Regions from separate parts of the Homo sapiens genome. Here all the other regions are linked to region 1. The links are contacts of gene promoters, found by promoter capture Hi-C in blood cells and fetal thymus (Javierre and others, 2016). All regions are on one chromosome and are shown on one strand. The core of a region is centred on a gene start or on the middle of the fragment in contact, and the rest is flanking DNA. Distances in the headings are between cores, read along the strand shown.

Region 1 (3,102 bases), core at 199-2,698:
GTCTTGGGTGATCTTAACTATTTTCTGTTTTAAAAATATGCTGACATCCATCATCTCTATCTCTAGCCCTCTCCCCTAAACTCCAGGATCTAATTATCCAAGTTTACTGGTCATATCCAGTCAGAGAGTTCAGAGGCACATGAACTCACTCAACAGGTCCAAAGGTTCAGTATGTGCTCCTCACAACCCCCGCCCAAATACTAGGCCTCCTTTAATGCCTAATTCTCAGACATAACGTTTTAAGTCTCTCCCATTCTGCTGCCTTAAGTCTTCAAACTCTTACCCAATTTAGAAACACTTGGTTTAGTTAACATTCAGGAATTTACTTTTCACAAAGGAGCGAGGGAATGGATATACTGTTGCTAACCGAACAAGGAATTAAAGAGGAGAGGGGAAACAAGGTCTTGGAAAATTGAATTTCCTTTTCCTTTACTCATTCTTGGGCAACCTAAATGACTGGAAGCCTGTTCTGGAACAGGTTGACTAGATAAATTTAGTTATTTGTGGATTCTCAGAAACCTTGAAGTTTAGCTGTCAGCCAGTCTCTGTCCTTTGGCACTTTAACACGGATTTCACCAGCTCCTTCATTTTCTGGACTTGCCCTGCCTCCAAGCTTGCCCTTCCTAAACCTTATTTCTAAGATGCAATGCCACGATCTATATAAATTTAAACATCAGAGATAACCTCCTTAAAACACTCAAAGTTCAAGGGAGTGCTTGCCCTAAGCATAAAGATCAAGCCCCGCTGTGATTGATGCACACGAGGCCCTTCCAGACTTCTTCACTCTTCATTTCTTACATTCTCGCCATCCTACACTTCACATTTTTGCAGTATCTGATCACTCATGGTTGCTACTGCTTCATTCCTCTCTGCCCACGGAAATATCGTTCCCTTACAGGTGATGTCCTCCCATTCAACTCCTAGTCATCCTTCAGTAACCTCCTCTCGGACGCCCTTCCCAACCCCACTACTCCCAAAGCACACTACATCTTACCTCCTTCTAGTGGTTCCTGCTTTTGTATAACTTTCGCCAGCCTATCACCCTGTGCTGCAACTATCTTCTACGTCCTGTCTCCCGAAGACAACACATTTTAAAGGGCAAGAAACATGCCCTAGCCTAGTTCCATCACTTAAGAATTTCACTCCGTTTTCATCCTTTCTAGCACGTACCTTAGCCTAGGCCCACCTTCACTCCAGTCTCCTTCCGCCCCGTCTCGGGTACCACTGCCAGCGTCCCGCCCAGCGCGTGCATCCGCACCCAGAACCCGCTCCCCTCGATCTCACGGAGCACCGGGTGGGAGCCCGCCTGCTCCCCCTTCCTCGCTCATGAGCCACTCCTCCAACCCCCTCACCTGAACGGCCGCGAGATGACTGCCGGCCACCGACACCGAGGACTCGCCAGGTGTTCCAACCTCGGAACCTGCCTCGCCTGGCTTGGGGGTGGAGCCGGGTGGGCCAGGCGGCCCGTCCTGTCGTTATTGGCCTGCGAGAGCTCCCGCCCCGCCTTCTCGGCGCGGTGATTGGTCTGTGCAGTTGCCGACATCGTGTGACTCGCGCGAACGAGCTCCTGGCGGTCCCAGCCATTGGCTCCGCGGATGGAGTGAGGATAGTGAGACCTGCAGAGCCAGCCAATGGTCGGCACCGCGGAGCGCCCGGAGGCGGGGAAGCGTGAGAGCGCGCCACGGCGTGAGGGGGCGGGCACAGACGGATGGCCGCCTCGCCCTGCAGCGCGGAGTCGCCTTGGCAACTGCGGTCCCGGCAGATTCCCAGTGAGAGCCTGCGCTGTGCGGGGGAGAGTGTCGCGCCGGCCGCCGTCCCAGGACTTTTATTTCAAATGTGACCTGTGTAGCAACCGCAGTTCCCAAACCCGGGAAGAAGAGAGTATAGATGAGTCTTAAAATCTATGTTGACTGTTTTGTGTTTCCAGACACCCTTGCCTTCCTTTTTCTGGTCTACCATTTAGATTTAGATCTTTCGTCTCCCTTGTTTCCCCAGCCTACGTATCCTTTAATAAATTCCTGCATTTTGAAAACGGAGAATTTCAAATGCGATTATCGTCATTTTGCAGATGAGAAATAAAGGCTGGGAAAGATTTAAAAAGATTGAACATCAAGGGAGAGTTCGGCTCCCAGGACCTTGACCTCGCTACATGGGCAGAGAACGCCCAGGTGTTGTTGCAATTGTTGTGCTGGACGATGAGTGCCCGGGGGCGGGGGCGGGGGCGGGGGCTTGACGCAGGTCTTTGCAGCTCTAAAGCTCAGTTTACACCATCTCTCAACATTAAAATATTGTGTACTGGGGTTTAATAATAAAACTGTACAGATGTGATAATATACTAAAACTTTCACTTAACGGAAGAGGTGCCTTTAAAGAAAAAACCGCACAGGGGCATCATTTGGGCTAGTGAAGGCCCTTTTTCCTCCTTCTTTATTAAGGTATAATTGACAAAAATTGTGTTTACGGCGTACACATGTTTTGATTATGTGTATATTGTGTCAAATATATACAGCTTCTGAAAACAGAATACTATTGTTTCATTCCTCCATGCTTTTGCTCAAACTGGCCCTTCTGCCTGGAATAATCAGCCATCTCCATGCCGCCCCATCAATTCAGGTACTATCTCCTTGAGGAAGTTCCCTCTTGAAAAGTGTCTTTTTTAGATTCAGTGTGACCTGTACTTATTCGTCTATCCCTCATGTTTGGCACACACATTCTTTGTAAAGTATCATGACAGCGGTCACGTCAAATGAAAAGAAATGGGATCTGTCCCTTGGTTGTCAGAGTCAGCCCTGTCTTTAGGATGCCTTTACAGTGGTGTCTGAAACCATGCCTATATACTTTATGAAGTTAATCTGGGAAAAAGGGGTGGGGGGAACGAAATTAAACCAAGCTTGCAGCACACTGAGGATTAATAATTAGGTCAGCTTGCTGTCTGACCCCTTCCTCATAATTGTTTGCCTATTGCTTCAGAATCATGTAGACTCTGTTACAAGGTTATAGTTTCCCCTAACTGCTCTATAGACAACAACTTGAACATTATGAAACGTTAAGTTTGTGCTTTGAGATAACCTTTCAGGTCCTTCGTACTGATGAAACTACTGA
Region 2 (3,102 bases), core at 264-2,763, 4.7 Mb before region 1:
GCCCAGATTCATCATGTAAGTGACTGAGAAGATACGGGTACCCGCTAACCAAGCTAGTAAATACAAGCAGAAGAGCAATTGCAGGTCATCCTGTTTCTTCTCATCCTCCTCCTCCAGATTCTCATCCTTTGCACCGCCCCATTGTAGGTGTTCTGTGGTCTCTTCTTCCTGAGAGCTGTCATCCTCTCTGATGATTGCCGCTGTCAAAGGGGTGTTAGCTGGTATGTTCTCACATGGCCATGCGAGGTGTTCATTTCTGGAATCCTTTCTGGTTGATCAGGCAGTTGTTCTGATAGGTCAGCGTCTTCCCTTTATCCATACTATTTGTGTGTGTGTGTGTGTATATATATATATTTATTATTTTTGAGATGGAGTCTGACTCTGTTGCTCAGGCTGAAGTGCAGTGGCGCAATCTCTGCTCACTACAACGTCTGCCTCCCAGATTCAAGCGCTTCTCTTGCCTCAGCCTCCCAAGTAGCTGGGACTACAGGCACACACCACTATGCCTGGCTAATTGTTTTGTATTTTTAGTAGAGACTAAAAATCTCTGTGAAAGATTTTTGAAAGATTAATGTCATGACAGACTCAGGAACAGAAAGCTTCAGATGGATGGAAGTGGCAGTACAGACTGTTGAAAAGACATCTTGTCCACCTTTGTAAGGCTAGACTATTTGTGGTGTGGATGTCAAGGGGTACCTGGGCAAGTTCAAGGGCACTGCTCAGGGCATACCAGCAACAATGGATTCTCAAAGCACAGGAGGAGGATGAAGGGGACACTCCAGCACAAGCTAGGATTCCATGGTGGAAGCAGCTAAGTAAATGTATTCTTCCAGGAGTGACCTTCCATAGAGATAGTGTCTCTGACCACGCTGAAGCTGAACTGGAGCTGGGCAAGGCAGAGAGGTTCAAATGAAGGGTGACTCCCACTATCACACCAAGCCCCACTGGGCAGCTGACCTGCCTGCCCATCCTCCTCCTCCTTAGACAGAAAACAGCGAATTCCATTCGCCTTTCTGCTCTCAATGAAAGGCTCTCTTTGGGTTCTTTACTAATCTACAATCTGTAAAAGTACTTTCCCTGTGACTTTTCTCCATTTCAGTACTGTCTTCTCTAAATGAGAATTAAAAGCAAGTTCCCCACACCGACCTCAAGTGGTTTCTAAGATAGCAAGAGTGCATTTTGCAGGTTGTCTGAGAATTTAAAAGAGATGGGGGAGGGGAGGAAATAGAGTCAGAGTGAATGCAGAAATGCTGGAGAAGAAAACGGGATATAATACTGCGGAATATTTTAATAGTGGGGACACAAATGTCATAATTAATAAAGCAGGTGGAAAGTTCGCGCTGTGGTGCAATTGTAAAGAATGCTTATTAAATACTTAAAAACAAAGAAAATTTACGTTTCTCAAAAGGACAGCTGAAAAATTCCTTGAGCTAAAATGTGTTGCTATTCAAGATGCCATAAAACTAATGTTAAAATATGATATCTCATTTCAATCTTTTTGGGGGAAAAAATCAGGCTTTGACTCACTCATACGACAGATCCCACGCACCCACCCACCAACATGGCCCTTGGCATGGGCGACCTGCCCACGTGTCGATGCAATCGTGCCTCTCTAGAGCCCTGCTTCCATCCGTTTCCCGAGCTTCGATGTCGTGACGAGAGACCGCGGCTACATCAACCTTGGGCAACCAGATGCAGCCGCGTGCGGCAGCCTGGCACTGCCCGGAGCATGCTCAGTCGGGTCCTGACCCACTTCTGCAGGTCCGACCTCGGGGCGTGGGGTCAGAGGCACTACTTTGCCAGTTTGCCAGGAACAGAGAGGAGCAGAGAGACTGAGAGTTGCTAAAGCTCCTCTCTTGGCACAGCAATGCCTGACCCGGCGGCGGAACATGCCCAGTCTGGCTGCCGGAGCCGCCGGGAGCGTCAATGTGGAAAGTCCACCTTTCCGGGTTTTCGCAGCAACCCACCGGGAAGAGGGCGGTACGGGAGTAAAAAGGCCGGAGTGGGGTGTGGCCAAGAGGGCGGGCACTAAAAAGCCGGGGGAAGGAGCCTGGTCCCGCCCCAGAAATTGAGAGTCTCTGTTCTCTTTTAAAATTAAAAAAAAAAAAAAAAAAAGGGAGATAAGGAGGAGAAGAAGCCACTAACATTGCAGGATCGTGTAGCGAAACTTCTGTAGGTACTTAATAATTTTAGAGTACTCTACTTTTTAATTAAAAAATCAACTTATGGTTCATTAGAAAAAACGTGGAAATTACAAATAATATTTTTAAAGAAAATGAAAAAAAAATTCCTGGAACCCCACCACTCAGAAAGTCACCAGGGAACGGCCCGCTGGGTTTTTTTCCAGACTCTTCCATCTGTGGACTTTGCTTTAAGAGACGTTTAAGACTTACAGCGCAGTCGCCCGGGAAGGCCTGAGAAGCTTTCGGAAGCAAGGTGGTTTGCTCGTGATTGCATTTGATTGCAAGGAGACAGGGTAGGCTTGGGGGTGGGTTGACTGGTTCCCATTTAGCGCCCCAGGATGGGACCCTAAGAAGCCTTTTCCTGGGTGTCCTTGAACACGCGTGCGATGCGACGCCCACAGAAGTTGCGGTGGAAGCCCCGGGCGGGAGAGAGAGCGGAGTGAGAGTCCCGCGCTGCCGCGGAGGCCCTGGGCCTGCGGGTGTGGGGCTCTGGGGGCCGCCGAGGCCCGGCCCAGAGGCTGAGCGGACTGAATGCGGGACTCCCCGGCAACTACAGCCTCCGGTGGCTCCTCCGCGGGGCCGCTCCGCAGCACCGACTGGCTCGCGCCGCACCGCCCGCCCCGCTGCCCCCGCCCGCGGCTGCCGCGAAAACCCGGCGGCTACACCCGCGCCTCCGCGCCGCCCGGCGAGCCGCACTGGGCATGCTCGGCCCCGGCCGGCCCAGGCTCCTGTAGGTGGGAAGCTCCGCGCTCCCGGCAGCCGGCGGCGCAGCTCGCAACGCTGTGAGGCGCCGGCGGAGGCGGCTCGCCCGCAGTAGGCGCTACCGGGCGTCCGGCGCAGAGTGCGGCGCAGCGGCCGCTGTCGGGCTGGCCATGGCGAGGGGTGCACGGCGGCCACCTGAGTGGCGCGGCGGTGTCAG
Region 3 (3,102 bases), core at 425-2,924, 4.4 Mb before region 1:
CAATGCTATTTTGAAAAGAGCACTCTCCAATACTGCTTCTAACTGATAAAAACACATTTTCATTCCATTTTCTTTTCTTCTTTTCCAACATCTTTATTTTACAGTTTGAGAAACTGTTTCAGAACAATTGAGTGATTGCTCAAGATTTCTGAGCAGACAAATGCAAGGATGGGACTAGAACCTGGGTTTGCCAATCTTTCGTCCAATGCATTTTGTAAAACCTGACCTTCAGGTTATAACTCTGAAGGGGCTGAAGACAAGTAGAATGGAGATAAATCAGATAAGCCCTGACTTTTTTATCCTACCATGTGTAGGTTATTCCCAAGCAGCAGTGCCCTTAACTCATGCCAATGGGAAAATAACATATGCTCTTTTTATTTTGTCTCTGTTTATTTATTTATTTTAAAACGTTTTTATTTTACTCTCCTTCCCCACCCCCACCTTATTGAGATATAATTGACAAATAAAAATTCTATATAGTTAAGGTGTACAACTTGATGTTTTAATATACATATATTTTTGTGAAATTATCACCATAATCAAGCTAATTAACATAGCATCACCTCACACAGTACCTTTGTGTGTGTATGTGGTTAGAACATGTAAGATCTGCCCTCCTAGCAAATTTTAAATATGCAATACAATATTCTTAACTGTAGTCACAATGTGGTACATTGTTTTGTTCAATTTCAGACTGCCTTGTTTACAAAGCAATTTGGGAATATGGATTATGACACTAAGTTTATTCCTGTCTGTGAAGCCAGCAGTTCCTCTAAGAATTTAAACTAAGGTAATATTCCAAAATATTTTTTAAAACCTTATGTACAAAAATGTTGACCACAGGGTTATACATAGCAATAAAAAGTTATGACACACAGTAAAAACTTATAACTACGAGAACAGTTACTTTATCAAACATTTGTCCAATGGCATATTTATGTAGCCATTAAAATATTGATGAAGCATTTTTACAATGTTTATTTGTTATTAAGCTTACTTTTTAAGGCCTATTACCAAATTTTATGTGCAGCATTATTTCATTTAACAAACTATAATAAGATACATGTAGAAAAATACTGAATATACCAAATATTGTCTGAGGCTACATCTAGGTGGCATAATATAATTAATTTTCTTTTTATTTTTAGATAGTATTCAAATTTTCTAAAATTATTACTACTTTTTATAGAGACAGGGTCTTGCTATGTTGCCCAGACTGGTCTCAAACTCCTGGATTTAAGTGATCCTCCCACCTCAGCCTCCCAAAGTGCTGGGATTACAGGAATAACCCACTGCACCCAGCCCTAAAATTAAGTATAACTTTATATTCAGAAATTAAACACATAACTTGGAAGGTGAGGAGAATGACCTTATACAAGGCAATTACTCAATAGTAATATCCTGTTGGATCCTTCTAGTAACTGCTCCCTACATTCCCAGCTCCTGTTTCCTTGGCTATTTTCCACAATCTTGATCTCAGTTGCTGCTTTTGATGTTCCCTTGTAACATCACCTCGCAAACTCCTCATATTACCTGAGCTTGCTCTCTACCATATCGCCCTTTGTTGTGTCACTTCTTATTTCCTGGTGGTAACACTAGTCGTTCAGAATTTTTGCTCTGATCAACTCTGTGATAGTCACAGAGTAAAATGATTAGATCAATTCTTTTAAAGAGACTACTCTGGAGCAATGTGTCTGGAAGGTTGGAGTGTGATAAAGACTTACATAATTCTTACACTGCTTCTATGTGACTAGCAGGAATACTGACTGTACATTTATAGGACTCCTCAGTACACTATAAGCTCCTGGAACATAGCAACTGTGTCATCTTGGTCTTTTCAGTGCCTAACATAGTTCTGACACATAATTGGGACTTAATAAATGTTCTGAATGAACAAATAACTGAATGGATGAAAGGATGGGCAAGTAACTATTTAATGATGGTGACTGCTATTCATTAAAGAGGTCGATAAGCCAATTAATATTTACTGAGCACCCATTATGTGCCAGTTTGTGCTCAGAGCTAGATTCTAAGAAATTGTGGTAGGAAAAGAATTGGCGAATCAGCTGGAATTTTCATCCACTGTAAATATGAAGACTGGAGAACCTCTGGGGCCTTTCAAAGATGTGTTTGGATCATCCAACTAGTGCTAATTAAGGGTTACATGGTCCCAGAGTAACTGATCTGGATTAAGCATAATTGGGCAGACCAGTTTCACCACCATTTAGCTGTATAATTTGCCAGAGTCAAAGTGGCCAAAGGTAAGGCCAAGAGTGCAGTGTCAAAGATTAATGCTACAGCTCATTTGCAGCCCATCAATAACAATTGTCTAGGATCAGCTCTGCCTGAAGCTTCTGCTAACTTTTATACAGCAAATTAGAAAAAAAGTTTATCCTTCCCAAATCTGTTTCTTCTGCAATACAATCACCCATATCTCCCAAATTAGGTCCCCCTGCTATGAATAGCCCCTAAAAGAAGTCCTATTTTACAGCCTATTTGGGAATCAGAATCATAAGGCTATGGGGGCTCTGGGCCTTCTCAAAGCTGATTTATCCTCCAGGGTTGGCCAACAGCGTGAGTCACAGGACTCAGCTCAATCCTGACTGCCAGAGTGAATGACTTCCATCATTTAGAACCTTAGAAATTCAATTGGATAAGCCTGTAATTCCTTACACATGTGCTGCTCTATGTGGTTATTCTGCCCTGAATACACGTTAATGCTGAATGTCTGGCTACACTCTCAAGTCCTGGGATCCTAAGTGGCATCTTGTCTTGTCTTTAATTTTCAGCAGCTCTCATAACAAAGGCAGAAAGAAATGCTTAAGAAGCTAGCTATGACATCTATGGCCTTCAAAGTGCACAAAGATTGAAAAAAAAAGAAAAAACTTGTAAAAATATTCTCTTTTTTTTTTTTTTTTTGAGACAGAGTCTTGCTCTGTTGCCCAGGCTGGAGTGCAGTGGTGGGATCTCGGCTCACTGCAGCCTCTGCTTCTCAGGTTCAAGTGATTCTCCTGCCTCAGCCACCCAGGTACTAGGATTATAGGCATAAGCCGAGCCCGGCTAATTGTTGTATTTTTTAGAGATGGGGTTTCACCATGTTGG
Region 4 (3,102 bases), core at 151-2,650, 4.3 Mb before region 1:
AGAATCAATATCATGAAAATGGCCATACTGCCCGAAGTAATTTATAGATTCAACGCTATTCCCATCAAGCTACCATTGACTTTCCTCACAAAATTAGAAAAACCTACTTTAAATTTCATATGGAACCAAAAAAGAGCCCGTATGGCCAAGACAATCCTAAGCAAAAATAACAAAGCTGGAGGCATCATACTACCTGACTTCAAACTATACTACAAGGCTCAGTAACCAAAACAGCATAGTACTGGTACCAAAACACATATACAGACCAACGGAACAGAACAAAGACCTCAGAAATAACACCACACATCTACAATCATCTGATCTTCAGCAAACTTGACAAAAACAAGTAATGGGGAAAGGATTCCCTATTTAATATTAATAAATGGTGCTGGGAAAACTGGCTATCCATATGCAGAAAACTGGAACTGGACCCCTTCCTTACACCTTATACAAAAATTAACTCAAGATCGATTTGAGGCTTAAATGTAAAACCCAAAACCATGAAAACCTAGGCAATACCATTCAGGACATAGGCACTGGCAAAGACTTCATGACTGAAACACCAAAAGCAATGGCGACAAAAGCCAAAACAGACAAATAGGATCTAATTAAACTAAAGAGCTTCTGCACAGTAAAAGAAACTATCATCAGAATGAACAAGCAACCTACAGAATGGGAGAAAACTTTTGCAATCTATCCATCTGACATAGGTCTAATATCCAGAATCTACAAGGAACTTAAACAAATGTACAAGAAAAAAACAAACAACCCCATCAAAAAGTGGGCAAAGTATATTAACAGACACTTCTCTGTTCATAAAAAGGAGACATTTATGCGGCCAACAAACATACAAAAAGACTAATAACAGTCAAAACTTTTGAATTCAAAAGATGGGTTTCTGGGTTTCAAAAAGCTTTAAGTAAAAAGGCTTAGGGGTTTCTGCAACAAGCCTGATGAAGAACCAACTTTACCTAACTATATGAGGATTGCTGGGGAGGAGAAAAAAGGGAATCAAGTAAACAAGAGGTTAGAACTATTAAACTGGTGACTGGCTTCAGCCTTTTATATTTTCTATAAGTGAGATACAGGTAAGATCATACTAGCCACACTTAAAAGTTGATTTTTTTATTCATACTTCCTAAAAATTATTTCACATCATTAAATGCACATGCACATTTTCTGTGACTTCAGATAACTATATTTGTCATAACATATTATAATTTATTCATTTTACTTTATTTTTTTAGAGATGGGGTCTTGCTCTGCCACCTAGGCTGGAAAGCAGTGGTGGAAACATAGCTCACTGTAGCCTCAAACCTAGGCTCAAGCAATCATCCTGCCTCAGCCTCCCAAGTAGTTGGGACTGCAGGCAAGCACCACCACACCTGGCTACATACTACAATTTAAACAAATCTTCAGGTTGGTTTGCCATTATGAACATTATCTAACATATATGTATCTGCTCAGCCATCCTCTTTTCCAGTTAATTTTTACGATTTTAAGTCTTTTCTTATTCTCGACTTTTTCTCCAACCCCACTACCAGATATCCAATACTAATAACCAGGTATATTTCCAAACTTAAAATAATCATATTATCCATTTATTATCGTCACATTAGGTTTATTATTTATGTAATAGAACCTGATTGTTTTGCCCACTTGGTATCTCCTTCCCCTTCTTCCTATAACAGAACCCAATTATTTTAAGGAAACTTCTGTCCCTCACTGCATGCAGTCCTGGTGAAGGTATCAATCAAGATACCTTCTCCTCCCCAGCTAAAGAAAACACATAGATCCAAGTTAGACCAATCAAACTGTGGCTCCTAGAAATGTAAATCTTGAGCACAGTGTTAATCAGAACCAATTAATTTTAACAGCTGAAGCTTCAAGAGGACTTAGGATAATTCCATAGTTTCTGCTACCTAAATATCCAGCTCTTGGATGATAAGAAAGTATGACCTGAAAGTTAGTAGCTTCCAAGTTTAAGACAAAAAAAAAAAAAAATCAAAAACTTTTTTGGAGGGCTGACTACCGGATGCCAGTGACTACTATTCTACTACCTAACTCTACTATCTCCTGGCTGAAAAACAGTAACAAAAAAGACTGGAAAAAAGATCACTTTTCTTCCAGGTGGCCTAGTAGAGAAATTCCATGACTTTACTGCACTTTGAGGTCAGAAAGACCTAGAGTCAAATTCCAGCCCTGCCTCCCGTTAGTTCTGTGATCCAGCGCAAGTTACTTATTAACCTCTTTGAGTACCTTGGTTTTGTTACCCACTTCTACTAGAGTATTGTATGTGGACTGGAGACAAATTATGTAAAACATTTAATACTATACTTGACAGATAGTAGAAAAACAATAAACACAAGCTATTATTTCTGCTCAAATATTTGGGTATTTAAAATTTCATCAGGAAAGCCACGTGTAGTGGTGCACACCTGTAGTCCCAGCTAATCAGGACGCTGTGGCAGGAGGCTATATCATCTGAGCCCAGGAGTTCAAGGGAGCCTGGGAAACACAGTGAGATCTCATCTCTATTTAAAAAACAAATAACAAACAAAAAACAACCCCCTCTCACACACACAATTCAGCATGTTGCATTATATTACTCATATGACTAAGTTATAATATCGCTTAACCAAAAGACTAACAATATGACAAAGACAGCAAAAAAAAAAAAAAAAAAAAAAATGTCTGGCCGGGCGCGGTGGCTCACACCTGTAATCTCAGAACTTTGGGAGGCTGAGGCAGGTGGATCACGAGGTCAGGAGTTCAAGAGCAGCCTGGCCAATATGGTGAAACCCCATCTCTACTAAAAAAAATCAGGCGGGCATAGTGGCATATGCCTGTAGTCCCAGCTACTCGGGAAGCTGAGGCAGCAGAATCACTTGAACCCTGGAGGTGGAGGTTGCAGTGAGTGGAGGTTGTGCCACTGCACTCCAACCTGGGCGACAGAGCGAGATCCATCTCAAAAAAAAAAAGAAAAAAAAGTCTTAAAAATTTGGACAATGAGTTCTTCTACAACTGTATATTGAGCAAAAATCCTGTATTTTTAACAGATAACTTAATTCATTATGCCTGGTATGGACACAGAAACAAATT
Region 5 (3,102 bases), core at 262-2,761, 4.3 Mb before region 1:
TTTGCAACTTTATGAATGTTTTATAGTTATCGCTACCAAAGATGGCATATTATACTGAGATGAGATTTGTTAGAGTATATTAATTAAAACAATAGGAAAGTATGAAAGTAGTTGTTCATACTAAGAAATCTGCAGTTCCATAGAGGCAAACAAATTAAATATTATGTGGCTTTTGAGAAAATTACCAAAAGGCTTTTAAAAACATAAACATTAATAGCTTAAGAATCATTTAATTTTGATGTATCAAAGCATGTATGCTAAGATTTTTGTGAAGAACACAGACACTCTGTTTTTATTTCTTTACAGAATAGAAGGGCTTAATACATATGATAACATTTCAGTGAACATTAGCTAGAGGCTACACAGCACTAAGAAATCTCTGTAAAATCATTAAACCTTTTTATGTGTTAATACTTCAATCAGCAAATTCCAATATATCTCCTCCATTTTATCCCTAAAAGTCTCTCAAAAATCGTAAGTGGTAACTGGAAATTTAACTATTTCCGTTAAAAAAATTAATTTCATAATACCTTTGAGACACCTAGCCTGCAGATCATTCTTTGTAACACAAGCATGCAACTCTGCTCCAAATAAACCAATTAAACCCAGGCCTGCATGGGTTTCTATTTCTATAAATTTGATAACTTAAGATAAAAAAAAAAAACTATTCCACGTATTAACCCAGAAACCTATAGAGCTGTACTGACTGATGCAGCAGCCAGCATACATACGGCTATCGAGCCATTGAAACATGGCTGGTCCAAACTGAAATGTGCTCTAAGTGTAAAATACCTACCAGATTTCTAAGACTTAATATTTAAAAAGGATGTCAAATATTTGACTAGAAATTTTATACTGATTACATGTTGAAATATTTTAGATCCATTGGGTTAAATAAAATATATTTGAAATGAATCTCACCACTTTCTTTTTACCTTTTTAATGTGGCTACTGAAAAATTAAAAATTACCTATGTGGCTTGCATTTGCAGCACTAACACTTTTATTGAACAGCACTGCTATAAAATATTCAAATTTCTATAGTAGCATAAAGGACATATAACAGAAGGAAATCTGAACACTAGTGTTAAATATTTTCAGGTTCTAAACCCAATTCCCAGGCTTGGGCACAAAAGGCTATTTAGACTCTAACACAGCAGATGAAATTTTACATATTTAAAAAAAATAATGCAAAGTCACCTTTTCCATTTTAATCACCAAAAATATACTTATAATCATTTCAAAACATTGTAATAGATACACAGTAGCTTGTAAATATATTCTTACAAAATTATAAAAATTAGAGATAAGCTGGGTGTGGTGGCGCATGCCTGTAGTTCCAGCACTTTGGGAGGCCGAGGCAGCTGGATCGCTTGAGGTCAAGAGCTCAAGACCCACCTGGCCATGGTGGTGAACCCCATCTCTATTAAAAATAAAAAATTAGCCGGGCGTGGTGGCAGCCGCCTGTAACCCCAGCTACTAAGGAGCCTGAGGCATGAAAATCGCTTGAGCCAGAGAGGCGGCAGTTGCAGTGAGCTGAGATTATGCCACTGCACTCCAGCCTGGGAAACAGAGTGAGACTCTGTCTCAAACAAAGTAATAATAATAATCAGAGATAAACTATGAAAACTTCCAGTAATAAGGCCTCGTTTACCTAATAAATTCCTATATTATCTACGTGCAATTATTTTGCTTCCTTCGAATCTGATGACACTGCAGCCAGCACAGTTTTTTTTTCCAAAAAGTAAGTTTGCTCATAATCTCTCTCCATTCCATGTTAACATCTCTTAATCATTTCCTGCTACCCTTAAGAAACAAACTCTTTAATATAGCAGAAAAAGTTCTATGCAGCCCAACCCCTGCTAGTTCCCCAGCACTTTTTTTTTTTTTTTTTTTTTTTTTTGAGATGGAGTCTCGCTCTGTCACCCAGGCTGGAGTGCAGTGGCGCGATCGCTGCTCACTGCAAACTCCGCCTCCTGGGTTCAGGCCATTCTTCTGCCTCAGCCTCCCGAGTACCTGGGACTACAGGCGCCCGCCACTGCGCCCGGCTAATTTTTTGTGTTTTTAGTAGAGACGGGGTTTCACCATGGTCTCAATCTCCTGACCTCGTGATCCGCCCGCCTCGGCCTCCCAAATTGCTGGTATTACAGGCCTGAGCCACCGCGCCTGGCCCCAGCTTCTTTTAATAGCCATTCTGACTGGCGTGAGATGGTGTCTCACTGTGGTTTTGATTTCCATTTCGCTAATCATTAGTGATGTTGAGCATTTTTTCACATGCTTGTTGGCCAGTTGTATATCTTACTTTGAGAAGTATGTACTTCCTGAAGTACTCTAGACTCACTGATCTTTCAATCTCTCAGTCCTATCAAGCTCTTTCCTGACTCCTGCCCCAAGGCCTTTGTTGCTCCCTCTGCCTGGATCATACCCTCTTCTCTTTAACAACTCACTCTCTTAATATTTTGTTGAAGGTTTTTACATCTATGTTCATCAGGGATATTGACCTGTACTTTTCCTTTTTCATTGTGTCTTTGCCAGGTTTTGGTATCGGGGTGAAGCTGGAATGAGTTAAGGAGGAGCCCCTCCTCATTTTTTGGAGTCGTTTCAGTAGAATTGGTACCAGCTTTCTTTGTACATCTGATAGAATTCAGCTATGAATACATCTGGTCCAGGGCTTTTCTGGTTGGTAGATTTTTTATTACCGATTCCATTTTGGAACTCGATATTGGTCTGTTCAGGATTTCAATTTCATCCTGATTTAATCTTGGGAGGCTGTTTCCAGAATTTACCCATTTCCTCTAGATTTTCTAGTTCGTGTTTACAGATGTGTTCATAATAGTCTCTGGGGATCTTTTGTATTTCCATGGGATTGGTTGTAATGTCACCTTTGTTGTTTCTGATTGTGTGGTGATTTGGATCTTGTCTCTTTCTCTGTTAATCTAGCTAACGTCTGACAAAGGTCTAATATCTACAATCTACAAGAAGCAAACAATTCAACAAGCAAAAAACAACATTATTAAAAAGTGGGCAAAGACGGCCGGGCGCGGTGGCTCACGCCTGTAACCCCAGCACTTTGGGAGGCCTAGGTGGGCGGATCACGAGGTCA
Region 6 (3,102 bases), core at 417-2,916, 4.3 Mb before region 1:
AATATAAAAATGCATGCTTATGTTTTTAGGAACTTAGAGAAAAATGTAGATGATATTAATTAACTGTTAACATTGGTTTCGTGGAGGACAGCACAGAAGAGCTCTGGGAAGGAGACGATAGGCTTTATCTTTGTGTACTTGTGTTACTGGCTTGTTGCAAGAAGCAAAAACTTTTTTGTTTGAAAGAAAAGTCCAATAAAATATTTAAAGAAAAAGAAACCCCAAAGCACTCTTGTTTAAAAATAAAAAAAAAAATCAATTGTACAGGGGTATATAAACCAGAAAGGGAAATCAGGTAATCTTCTTAGGTAACCTGCTTTATTTACTCATCAATATATCAATGGTATCTTTGTATGTCAATAAAGTAGATCTTGATTACTCTTTTAAATGGCTTTAGAGTATTTCATTGTTTGGATATATTATAATTTAATCAATTCTTTATTGTTATACATTTACAGTATTTCTAGTTTTTCTGGTTATAAACAATAACGGTTATCCTTGTATATAAATCATTGCTCACTTGTTCCAGAAGTTAAATTGCTGAGTCAAAGGATATGCATACTGCTAGCATACCTTCTAGAAAGACTGTAGCAGTTTGTAGTCCTACCAATAGTTTATGACATGAGCCTAAAGAATTATCTAAGGAGGTTAGCTGACTAGCCATTCTTCCTGTAAGCAGCAAAAAGAATTTGCTTAGATTAGTAATTGGCAACATTTCACTTCACTTTGATGTACAAAAGGATGTGGGTAGAACTACAATTGTGCATTCAGACATGATAATTCCTACTAACTGGGGGTAGGAGGGCCCACAGGAGTGTAGACTAGAAGTAGAAAGAATGAGGAAAATAAGTCTTTTGTAGCTGTATGGCGATTGAAGAGGAGATAAAACAAACTCTCCAGCTTTTCAGGTTGGGTGACTTGCAGCGCCATCGTCTGGCAAAGCCGCCAAAATCTTTCAATGTCCCTAGGAATAAAGTTGCCCTGAGTAGGGCCACTCAGGATGACGCCAGATGATATCCCTTATTATAGTTTTAGGGGAATCTCTTCCTACCTTCGCCAGTCCTGCAGTGAAAAAATGTACTTAGACTGCTGTACATTTCCAAACCCTTCAACATACAGACAAGTAATTTATACATACATTAGATGTAAAGGTGTAGAAAACCCCATACAGCTTTTTAAAAATATCTCAAGACTTAAACATTCTTCTGTTTCAACCATCCAAGATATAATAGGAAAAGACTTGCTTTTTAAAGCAAAATTGCTCTTTAAAATGTGGCATCCCTAAGTAGTGCGCTTTCATGTAAAATAAAAAAGTCCCTTTCTCGGTGTAGTAGCTGTGGGAAAATTTTATATGCTTTATATTCCAAATTGGTTTCAACTAGTGAGTTCTCTCCCGCATCTCTGCATGACTCTTAACAGCTTTACACTCTCTCCATCCTTTTCATCTCTCCCGTCTCGTCCTTTCTGTCTTCCCGCCTGCAGAGCCCGCCCCTCCCGTCCCTTCGCACAGCACCCCGCCCGCCCCTTCGCACAGCACCCCGCCCGACCCTACGGTTCTAGCCCAGCCTCACTGCTCCTTCCCAGCCGCCTCCGCTGCGTGCCGCCTTCCACGCGCTGACGTCACACGCCAGCGCCGGTGACGCGCCGGCCGCTCTCCCTTAGTCCGCATTCGCTCCAGGGTTTTGGGACCCTAGGTTGCGGAGTCCTTACCCTACCCTGGCCTCTCGAGCAGTTGTCCCCATAACTCGGAATCTAGAGCCGCTGTTGCGAGGCAGGAGCACGTGGCAGTCAAGTAGCTTCCCAGTCCCGAACGCCGCCCGTCCCCACCCCGCCGTGGCCACTAGCAACGACCTCTGTGAAGTTGGAGAGGCGGTAACGGAGGCACTCCCCCTGCTGCACCCCGCCGTTTCTACGGGGCTCAGAAACCAGTTTGTTTGTTTCGTCGGGGTAGTGTCGACCTGTCTTACGGGCGTCGCCCGAGACAGGACGGAGTCAAACCCGTGGTATCAACTGAAGACGAGTGTCAGGTGTGGAGAGTCTCAGTGCCCCCTTTCAGTCTGGACTGTGAGCTGCTGCTGGTTAGACAGTCTTGGTTTCTCTTTCAGGATGTCATTTTCAAAATGCGGGATGGTACCTCTGCTTTATTAAGCCCCGTAGGAAGACTGCCACACCTAGACTGATGCTTATTAGTCATCACCGTTATTCCTACTAACGTCCTGTGTCACTGAGGTGAGTTCCACTTGGGGGAAGGAATGACATGCAAAATGGTAAAAATCATCCTGGAAATGAGATGTGCGTAGAACTGCTTATATTGAGATTACACAGATACCTTAAGTGTTTGCAGGGAAAATACCTTAATCTCATTTAAATGTTAATTCTCTAAGACACTCTGTATTAACAAAGCGATTCTTGGACATTACGGTATTTTTAAAAACTAGAGCGGTAATGGGATTAAAATAATAGGAATCTTAGTATGGATAAGCAAGCATTTGCATTGCTTATGTTGTGTCCAATCTTAAATTACTGATAAATTTTAATTAGGAAGCGAATATGAGTAGTAGTTAGCTGGTTACCCTGTAATCTTAGATTTCTGTTTCCATGATTTGACACAGTTTCCATATGTAAGGCATTAATTGTTGTACTACTTTAAGAGTTTATCATAACTTTTTTTGCAGGCCTATTTTTTGTTCTTTAAGATCTGCTTTAGGAAGCAGAAATATTTTTTATTGCCTTGGTATGTTTCATTAGAAATGTTTATGAAGGATTAAAAGTGGCATCCAATCTAAGTTAATGACCTTTTTTTATGATGCAGCAGTATTGTAGAGCTGATGGAGGGGAGCCAAATTTGGAGAGAAGTAACTCCTTGTTTCTAGTTTACATTTGTCTGGTTTTAGAGGTTCTACAGATCTGTTTCACTTAAAATATCCATTGTTCTAGGTGAAATGTAAGGAGCCTATTTTGTGGGAAAACAGGTTTTTTTCACGTTAAAAGTCACTGTCAGGAATTTAATAAAGGTCGTCGGACTTGACCACAGAAGTTCTTTTGAGGTCGTGTGAATAGTACATTGACATTGTATTCCAAGTAAATTTTGCCCTGTCTAAT
Region 7 (3,102 bases), core at 438-2,937, 3.7 Mb before region 1:
CATCATGCAATATACCCATGTAACAAACCTACACATGTGCCCCCCAAATCTAAAATAAAAGTTGGACTTAATAAAAAAAGAAGAAAGAAAATTATATTTCACAACTGTATTGGTATAAAGGTGAATATATTAATATTATACATTAGACGTTTTGTCCAACCTAAAAGAAAAAATAAAAGTATTGGTTAAACACAAAAATAGGCCAGATACGGTGACTTACACCTGTAATCCCAGCCCTTTGGGAGGCCGAGGCATGCAGATCGCTTGAGTCCAGGAGTTCGAGATGTGTTTGGGCAATATAGTGAGATCCTATCTCTACAAAAAAATACAAAAAAATTAGCCAGGCATGGTGGCATGCGCCTGAGGTCCCAGCTATTTGGGAGGCTGAGATGAGAGGACTGTATGAGCCCAGGAGGTCAAGGCTACAGTGAGCCAAGATTGAGCCACTGCACTCCAGCCTGGGTGACAGAGCGAGATCCTATCTTGAATAAATAAATAAATAAATAAGACAAAAATAAAAAATAAAACAAAGCGAGAGGAAAGAAAAACATTCCATGTCTTCCCTGTGTCATCTATGCTATTGCTGTTAGGCTGGTGTGTGTTAACATCTCTTCTTCATAGATACGATGAGGATGAGACACCCCTATGGTGATTCATGTCCAATACACACTGCTTTGCATGTGTATCTATTTCTGTTGGATTCACCACTTCATCAATAGCTTCAAAACGTCTCCCAGAATTCCACATAAGTCCAGACTTGTGCTAAAAAGGAAAATGAGGATGTAATAGATGCTAACAGGGAAATACGCTTTATTATGTTATTCTGAGGACTGGAACTTTAGAAATATATTTGAGGATAATCTTTTACAAATAAATAAACTTGTTCAGGTTGAACCCTCAGACCTCAGATATATATTTTTAATACATTGATTTGAAAGAAATGGAAGTTAGAAGCCAGAATTTATTGATTTATTTACTTTTATTATTATTATTTTTTTGAGATGGAGTCTTGCTCTGTTACCCAGGCTGGAGTGCGGTGGTGCGATCTCAGCTTACTGCAACCTCCGCCTCCTGGGTTCAAGTGATTCTCCTGCCTCAGCCTCCTGAGTAGCTGGGATTACAGGCACGTGCCCCATGCCCGGCTAATTTTTGTATTTTTTTGTAGAGACAAGGTTTCACCATGTTGGACAGGATGGTCTCAAACTCCTGACCTGAAGTGACCCACCCACCTCGGCCTCCCAAAGTGCTGGGCTTATAGTCATGAGCCACCATGCCAGACCCAGAATTGTGACTGACATATTTTGTGTGAGATACAAGAAGTAAGGAATATCAGAAGAAAAACAAAAACAGAAGAAAATGTTTTCTGACCTGAGAAACCAGAATAATAATATAAGGCAAGTCTCTCAATAGTGATGGCTAAACTATGGCTGTCTGATGCATAAGTCCAGAATGCCTATTTCCTATTGAAAGGAGGTGCTACTAATTATTAATAATTGTAAGGCGATGGCATCGTGCTAAGTATTTTATATAGGATCAACCTATCTTATGGCTGTCAATAACCTCATGCCAGTATTATTTTCCCTATTTTTTGCATAAAGAAATCTTAACCCAGAGAGTTTAATAACTTGCCCAAGATTACACAGCTTGTGGTAGAGCCAGAATTCAAATTCAGTAGACTAAACCCAGAGTTATATATGATGCTATATTGCCAGTTTTATATATATTTATGGAATTTTGCCTGAAACAGTTAGAGTGTATGTTGTGAATGAAAAGTATTCATGTTGTCATCTGTCACTTTTTTTATTTTTGGAGACAGGGGGTCTCTGTCTGTCACCCAGGCTAGAGTGCTGTGGCATGGTCACAGCTGACTGCAGCCTAGACCTCTTGGGCTCAAGCAATCCTCCCACCTTAGTCTCCCAAGGAGCTAGGACCACAGGCACGCACCACTACACACAGATAATTTTTCAATTTTAATTTTGTAGACACAGGGTCTTTCTGTGTTGCCCAGGCTGGTCTCAAACTCCTGAGCTCAAGTGATCTTCCCACCTTGGCCTCCTGAAGTGTTGGGATTACAGGCGTGAGCCATGGTGCCAGGCCTCTGTCACCTTCTAAGCCAATTCTTTTCAACTGATTTATTCCATCTCTATTTAGTAGAAGGGAAAAAGGATACATTCCATAGTTTTGGTTAAGGATCATCTACTTTATACTCATTTATTTAAAATTATTGTGGTTTAATGGCTAGCCTAGTAAATTAGCCAAATAAATTAATATGTCATTTTTAAAAATAAGGTGAATTTTGGCCCATTTTTTCCCACTCATAGGTTATATAGGGACCCATAAATATGTACTCCTCAACTCAGTAAGTTAAGCAAATTATGAGTATTACTTGCCAGAGGGGACTGATTCATATTCCTTATAGGATTGGTGTCTGTTTCACTTCTTAAAAATTCGTATCTCTCTCCTCATACATTATCACCTCCTCTTCCATTTCTCTTCATATTATTATATGTTGGGTGCTGGTTCTGGGACTCACTACTGGTTACTTGGAACAAAACATTTACAGATTTCATGGGGCATTGAGCTCAGCTAATAATATTTGAAAAAGAGAAAAAGGCAGTAGTCTGTTAAGGAGACTAAATGGTGTACATGTTGCATTTAAAACAGAGCTTATTTTGAGCAAAGATCCCCTAGGGGGATGCTGCTTGTATGGTGTATCTGATCTGCTGGGGAGCACATGCCCAGCCAAGCCTCCTTTAATAAGGCCGCCCACACTGAGCCCCTGTGGCAATGGTGCTTGGCTGCGGGTGCACCTTCCGCCTTTGAGCACCCCACTCACTCACATGGCAACCTGCCTCCCCCGAGAACTGCTCTCCACAGGCGCTAATCTATCCCCTCATTAACAACCAATCCAATTCTCTGTCTTGAACAAAGGGAGTCAGAGTTTAATCCCTTGAACTGAAAAGTCCTATGGGGCTCAGCCATTTTCAACTGTGTGATTAGTAAATAAAGTGGGTCTGCAGGAAGGAGAAATTTAAAACAGAGGACAGCAGAGAAGGGGGCTCTTACGGCCTCAGAGAGCATTAAGGGGGCAGAGGGATGTGC

Evidence for each region. The method cuts DNA at HindIII sites, captures the fragments that hold promoters and counts their contacts. A CHiCAGO score of 5 or more calls a contact.
Region 2: a contact is called between a fragment that was not itself captured here and the fragment with the promoter of MSMO1 in region 1, in 9 of 17 cell types (total CD8 T cells, activated CD4 T cells, total CD4 T cells and 6 more). The highest score is 20.9, in total CD8 T cells.
Region 3: a contact is called between a fragment that was not itself captured here and the fragment with the promoter of MSMO1 in region 1, in 2 of 17 cell types (total CD8 T cells and naive B cells). The highest score is 5.2, in total CD8 T cells.
Region 4: a fragment that was not itself captured here is called in contact with the fragment with the promoter of MSMO1 in region 1 in 1 of 17 cell types (naive CD8 T cells); the score reaches 5.0 in naive CD8 T cells.
Region 5: a contact is called between a fragment that was not itself captured here and the fragment with the promoter of MSMO1 in region 1, in 4 of 17 cell types (non-activated CD4 T cells, total CD4 T cells, erythroblasts and 1 more). The highest score is 12.0, in non-activated CD4 T cells.
Region 6: the fragment with the promoter of NEK1 here is called in contact with the fragment with the promoter of MSMO1 in region 1 in 5 of 17 cell types (non-activated CD4 T cells, total CD4 T cells, naive CD8 T cells and 2 more); the score reaches 11.9 in non-activated CD4 T cells.
Region 7: a fragment that was not itself captured here is called in contact with the fragment with the promoter of MSMO1 in region 1 in 5 of 17 cell types (total CD4 T cells, total CD8 T cells, activated CD4 T cells and 2 more); the score reaches 10.4 in total CD4 T cells.

What each region holds. Positions count from the first base shown.
Region 1 is chr4:165,326,015-165,329,116 of GRCh38, reverse strand. It overlaps MSMO1 (methylsterol monooxygenase 1), which reads right to left and starts at 1,448. Exons shown (of 6, transcript NM_006745.5): 1 at 1,353-1,448. RefSeq lists an enhancer at 1,150-1,419 and a silencer at 1,510-1,849. The HindIII fragment of the contact is 2,277 bases long and covers 616-2,892 here.
Region 2 is chr4:170,026,234-170,029,335 of GRCh38, reverse strand. MFAP3L (microfibril associated protein 3 like) reads left to right here and starts at 2,941. Exons shown (of 3, transcript NM_021647.8): 1 at 2,941-3,102. RefSeq lists enhancers at 1,716-1,855, 1,845-2,564 and silencers at 2,036-2,105, 2,564-2,963, 3,044-3,102. The HindIII fragment of the contact is 1,823 bases long and covers 602-2,424 here.
Region 3 is chr4:169,765,472-169,768,573 of GRCh38, reverse strand. No RefSeq gene overlaps it. Among named protein-coding and RNA genes, the nearest start is that of HPF1, 9.1 kb to the right of the region's middle. The HindIII fragment of the contact is 1,359 bases long and covers 995-2,353 here.
Region 4 is chr4:169,667,633-169,670,734 of GRCh38, reverse strand. The region is part of intron 2 of CLCN3 (chloride voltage-gated channel 3); the gene reads right to left. Among named protein-coding and RNA genes, the nearest start is that of CLCN3, 49 kb to the right of the region's middle. The HindIII fragment of the contact is 970 bases long and covers 916-1,885 here.
Region 5 is chr4:169,631,517-169,634,618 of GRCh38, reverse strand. The region is part of intron 1 of CLCN3 (chloride voltage-gated channel 3); the gene reads right to left. Among named protein-coding and RNA genes, the nearest start is that of CLCN3, 12 kb to the right of the region's middle. The HindIII fragment of the contact is 6,464 bases long and covers 1-3,102 here.
Region 6 is chr4:169,611,147-169,614,248 of GRCh38, reverse strand. It overlaps NEK1 (NIMA related kinase 1), which reads left to right and starts at 1,666. Exons shown (of 36, transcript NM_001199397.3): 1 at 1,666-2,027; 2 at 2,106-2,229. RefSeq lists enhancers at 1,594-1,653, 2,074-2,193. The HindIII fragment of the contact is 11,256 bases long and covers 1-3,102 here.
Region 7 is chr4:169,017,918-169,021,019 of GRCh38, reverse strand. No RefSeq gene overlaps it. Among named protein-coding and RNA genes, the nearest start is that of CBR4-DT, 9.0 kb to the right of the region's middle. RefSeq lists an enhancer at 2,809-3,102. The HindIII fragment of the contact is 5,591 bases long and covers 1-3,102 here.